Regions from separate parts of the Homo sapiens genome. Here region 1 is linked to region 2. The links are contacts of gene promoters, found by promoter capture Hi-C in blood cells and fetal thymus (Javierre and others, 2016). All regions are on one chromosome and are shown on one strand. The core of a region is centred on a gene start or on the middle of the fragment in contact, and the rest is flanking DNA. Distances in the headings are between cores, read along the strand shown.

Evidence for each region. Contacts are between HindIII fragments. The CHiCAGO score rates a contact against its expected background, and 5 or more counts as called.
Region 1: a contact is called between a fragment that was not itself captured here and the fragment with the promoter of BCAP29 in region 2, in 1 of 17 cell types (monocytes). The highest score is 5.2, in monocytes.

The regions. Positions count from the first base shown.
Region 1 is chr7:107,749,314-107,752,013 of GRCh38, forward strand. The region is part of intron 2 of CBLL1 (Cbl proto-oncogene like 1); the gene reads left to right. Among named protein-coding and RNA genes, the nearest start is that of CBLL1-AS1, 6.1 kb to the left of the region's middle. The HindIII fragment of the contact is 5,237 bases long and covers 1-2,700 here.
Region 2 is chr7:107,578,798-107,581,497 of GRCh38, forward strand. BCAP29 (B cell receptor associated protein 29) reads left to right here and starts at 1,449. Exons shown (of 8, transcript NM_018844.4): 1 at 1,449-1,504; 2 at 1,962-2,067. The coding sequence starts at 1,976. DUS4L-BCAP29 (DUS4L-BCAP29 readthrough) reads left to right here. Exons shown (of 13, transcript NR_163941.2): 7 at 1,962-2,067. RefSeq lists a silencer at 1,307-1,796 and an enhancer at 1,887-1,956. The HindIII fragment of the contact is 6,036 bases long and covers 1-2,700 here.

The DNA of each region.
Region 1 (2,700 bases), core at 110-2,609, 170 kb after region 2:
AATCCTTCTATCCAAAGATAATCCCTGTTGACTTTTTTATACAAAAGTATTAATTTTTTATGTGTAGTTGCCATTTTTTCATGTAATATGCATTTGAGATTTTTTTCTTATCAGTACTTACAGATGTACCTCATTAAAAAAATAGGTTTGGGTATTTATAGATATACCATAATTTATTTAACAGTTTTTCCAGTTTTTTCTGTTACAAAAAACATTGCACCAAATATTCTTGGACATACAGTTTAGTATGTATACTTTGTAGAATTTGTACTTTGCACAGATTTGGCCTTTTTTTTTTTTTTAAGAGCAATTTGACAGTACTTGTCAAACTCTAAAATCCACAGTATCTGTCAAGTTTTAAAATATCCAAATTTGTAGTTTTAAAGGCTTTGGAATTAAAAAAATAATAATAAAAAGGTATGTTAGTTTTTACTGCCATACACCAATACTGAGTACTAGAAACCTTTTAAAATTTTTGTTTTGATGTAAATTTATTTTAATTATGAAAGAGTGTATATTTTTTCATAGCATTGACCATTCTTGTTTAGATCCTTTCTTCTGAGTTCTTTGTAAATTAATAGGGTTTTTGTTATATGTTATGTATGTGCGTGTGTGTATATATATTTTTTTGTTTGTTTGTTTGTTTGTTTTTGTTTTTTTGAGACTGAGTCTTACTCTGTTGCCTGGGCTGGAATGCAGTGGTGGGATCATGGCTTGATATTCCAGGCTCAAGTGATCTTTCCACCTCAGTCTCCTGAGGAGCTGGGACTACAGGTGCACCCCACCTGCCTGGCTAATTTTTTATATTTAATTTTTGTAGTCATGGGGTCTTGCTATGTTGCCCAGGCTGGTTTTGAACTCCTGGACTCAACAGTCCTCTTGCCTTAGCCTCCCAAGGTGCTGGGATTACAGGCGTGAGCCACTGTGCCTGGCCTATATTGTATATATTCTTCATTTGTCTTTTGAATTTTGTATACAAAATATTTATTGCAGAGAATCTTTTTTTTTTTGAGACAGAGTCTTGCGCTGTCACCCAGGCTGGAGTGCAGTGGCGGGATCTCGGCTCACTGCAAGCTCTGCCTCCCAGGTTCATGCCATTCTCCTGCCTCAGCCTCCCGAGTAGCTGGGACTACAGGTGCCCGCCACCACGCCCAGCTAATTTTTGTATTTTTAGTGGAGACGGGGTTTCACTGTGTTAGCCAGGATGGTCTCGATCTCCTGACCTCATGATCCGCCCGCATCGGCCTCCCAAAGTGCTGGGATTATAGTTATTGCAGAGAATCTTGAAGATTCTATATAGTCAGATATCCGGTCTTTGCTTTTATGACTTCTGGGTTTTGTGACATTATTTGAAAGGCCTTCCCCTATTTCACCAGTATAAAAGAGTTTTTCCATCTTACCCTTGATTACAGGTTAGCAAACTATGTCTGTGGGCCAAATGTAGCCCTGTTTTTATAAACAATTTTATTGGAACACAGCTATGCTCATTCATTTAAGTATTATCTATGGGGGCTTTCACACTATAATGGTAGAGTTGAGTAATTGTGATTGAGACCATATGGTCCACAAAGCGTAAATATTTACTATTTAGCATTTCACAGAAAAAGTTCACTGATACTGCTTTAGAACATTTATGGTTATTAAGGGGAAAAAAGGTGGGGTCTGGCTTTTTTTTTTTTCCCTCGAAACATTGTCCCAACTCTTTTCCTTGCTGAATAGGGATTTTACTGTTATCATATATATGTTAAAGCAGCAGTCCCTAATCTTTTTGGCACCAGGACTGGTTTCGTGGAAGACAGTTTTTCCACAGGTGGAGAGTGATGGCAGGGTGCGGGGAGTGGTTTCGGGATGCAACTGTTGCATTAGTTAGATTCTTGTAAGGAGCACCAACCTAGATCCCTCTCTTGCACGGTTCACAATAGGGTTTGCGTTCCTATGAGAATCTAATGAGGCTGCTGATCTGACGGGAGGCGGAGGCAGAGGTCAAGTGGTAATGCTCCCTAGCCCTTCCCTCACCTCCTGCTGTGTGGCCGCATTCCTAACAGGCCAAGGGTACTGGTCCAAGGCCTGGGAGTTGGGGACCCCTGTATTAAAAGTATTTTTTTGTATTTCTGGACTTTCTGTTCTATTCCAGCAATTTGTCTGTATTTATTTTGTAGAATCAAACTGCTTTAGTTACAACATATGTTATGGTTTCTTTTATCGTAGGGTTCCTCTGCCATCTAAACAAGTATATTTCAAGTCAAAATGTTAGAAATCGTGTTAGTAATAACCTAGGGCTGCTGTTGCACTACCTCTAATTTAGGGTCACTCCTGCTTTGGCTTTGTTTAAAAAAATAGTTTTTTAAAACAACACGTTAGTGTACAAATAATTCTTTAATAGTTCAAACAATGCAGAAAAGCCAAAATCCTTTTCTCTCCTTTCCCTCTCGGATTTTGGAGTAAAATAAGTTTGTTTTTGATTGTTGTTTTCCTAGGCATCAATCAAAATATATATAGTTTAATGATGGGAGTACAGGTGGAACTACTCTGAAAAATGATAATGTGCTCCTAATTTCCTTGGCTGTTATCTCAATAATTTTCTGGTTTGAAAAATTGAGTTTCTGCCAGGTGTGGTGGCTCACGCCTGTTTTCCCAGCACTTTGGGAGGCTGAGACGGGCGGGTCATGAGGTCAGGAGATTGAGACCATCCTGGCTAAC
Region 2 (2,700 bases), core at 199-2,698:
CACGCCTGTGATCCCAGCACTTTGGGAGGCCAAGACGGGCAGATCACGAGGTCAGGAGATCAAGACCATCCTGGATAACACGGTGAAACCCCGTCTCTACTAAAAATACAAAAATTAGCTGGGCGTGGTGGCGGGCGCCTATAGTCCCAGCTACTCAGGAGGCTGAGGCAGGAGAATGGTGTGAACCTGGGAGGTGGAGCTTGCAGTGAGCTGAGATTGCGCCACTGCACTCCTGCCTGGGCAACAGAGCAAGACTCTGTCTCAAAAAAAAAAAAAAAAAAGTAACTTCCTGGCTAGGCGCGGTGGCTCACACCTGTAATCCCAACAGTTTGGGAGGCCAAGGCAGGCAGATCACTTGAGTCCAGGAGTTCGAGACCAGCCTGGCCAACATGGTGAAACCCTGTCTCTGCTAAAAATACAACAATTAGCTAGGCATGGTGGCAGGCGCCTGTAATCCCAGCCACTCTGGAGACTGGGGCCAGAGAATCACTTGAACCTGGGAGGCAGAGGCTACAGTGAGCCGAGATCGCACCACCACAATCCAGCCTGGGCGACATTGGGAGACTCCATCTCAAAAAAAAAAAAAAAATCTTCCTTATGGTTAATTTATGTTCAAAGTCTATTTTTCTATTTTTTCTGTTACATGTGATCCAGAATATTAGTGATAAATTAAGAAAAAGCACCAACTTAAATGTGTTTTTGAATGTTTTATATTCTATAATTATCAATTTTCAACATTTATTTACTATTCCCCAAATAATTGTTACCAGGATAGTACTTTTATTAAATTCCTGATACGTTGTCAATATTGAAAAAACTCAACAACTTAAATGTACACGCACAGTTTGAAAAGCTGGAAAATAGTGAAAGAATATCCCCATACCCACCTTTCGTACCAGTCCCCAAACATCACGGTAAAGTTTACTGTCTCTTCCCAGCCCATGGACGGGAACGGGAACGCCTACGGAATATGTTGTGACATACAGTTGATCCTAGGTTCTCCAGAACAAAATGCTGCACGACCACCTCATCCTGGCCCTTTATTAAATATAGCTTAATTCTGGACACAAACAGTTCCCACCATGAAGAGAGAGTAGGTGACCGGAAAGGAGTGCGTCTTAAGCGCGTTCGCTGAATTTGCACCACCCAATCCAGCCCCGCCGCCCGGCGCCGCTCCTTAGACCTGGACCCCGGCACCCTCCCGCCGGGGCCGCACTTAGCAGTGGAAAGTCTGTCCTCCTGAAGAAGTTGCGCTCCGACCTCCAAGCATCAGGTCAAAAGTCTAACTCATTCTCTGACCTGCCGCCAATTAGAAAACAACTGTTGCCAATAAACGTGGTCGCGCCGCCTGTGACCTCAGCCGGGACGGACCCGCGGGCGGGAGCCTGCGGGGCGTGAGGCGGGGTGGGGCCCTGGCTCCCCTCCCCCGCCCAGCCGCGGCGTCTGACGTCCCGCGCGTCGGCGGCCGCGGAGCAGCGCAGGGAGCCAGGCGGGCTGCCGGCGGGTAAGGGCTTCTGCGACCCGGGGACCCGTGGGGCGTAGGCCGCGGAGGGAGAGCGCCGCTGCCTGGTCTGGAGAACCCCGCGGAGCTGGCCTGGCCCGACCCGGCCCGGCCCGGTCCGCGGCGCGGTGGTCGAGGGCCCGCGGCGCCTTCTGGGAGCGGGAGGGCCGGGAAGCCGGGCGTTGGTGGAGGGAGGCGTTGGGCTTCTGTCGCCGCGAAGCTGGCGGAAAAGGCAGTGGCCAGCGAGCCGCCTCGCCAGTTCCCACGACTCCCAGGGAGGTGGCGACACCCGCTTCCCGGGCCACCCTTTTCCCCTTCCTGACCGGGGTCCGTGCTTGCCTTCCCAGGTGGGGGAAGGTGGAACACTGTCCATCCCCTGGACAAAAACGCTGCGCCTCGGGGCCTTGAACCCGGTTTTGTTTGAAAGGAAGCAAGAGAAAATAAGTGTTTTTCCATTTAGGTGTGAAGAAAAAAATGACACTCCAATGGGCTGCAGTGGCAACCTTTCTTTATGCCGAAATAGGACTCATTTTAATCTTCTGCCTACCTTTTATTCCTCCTCAGAGGTAGGAAACCTTCAAATCGTTAACTAATAAATATTGGATCGCTCTTAATGTAAAATGGAAAAAGTTTTCTGAACATTAAAAAGTTTCGAAAGTCTTTGAAAATAAACTCACCTAACGAATTAGGTAGTATATAATGACAATATTAAAATAACATTTTATATAAAACTCTGTTACGTGTACAAGTGAAATAACTTTTTCTTCCCTTCTAAAAGAAAAGGCGCCTATACTTTTGATTCTGTTGATTACAGATATAATAAAGCAACGATTATACTTTTAACACCTGCCCTGCCTTGTCTCAGGTTTTACCTTTGTTTTATTGCCCTGAATTGGAGCCATGAACTAAATAAATATAAGTGGATAAATCATGTTTACAGTACAGCATGGGTGTAAAAGTGTTTCACTGAGGCACTGGAACAGCAATTTAGAAACCAAAGCCAATAAATTATTCTTAGTTTTCGCCTTTGTAACCGTTAGTTTCATTAATGACAATTTTACTACTTTTGATTTCACATAAAATTAATGAATGTATATTAAAAGTGCTGAATGTGAAAAGTATCACAACCATGTATTAGCATTAGTTCGTTAGTGACGGAACTTCTAAGGTCTTGAAGAACCAAGTACAGTGTTTCAAGC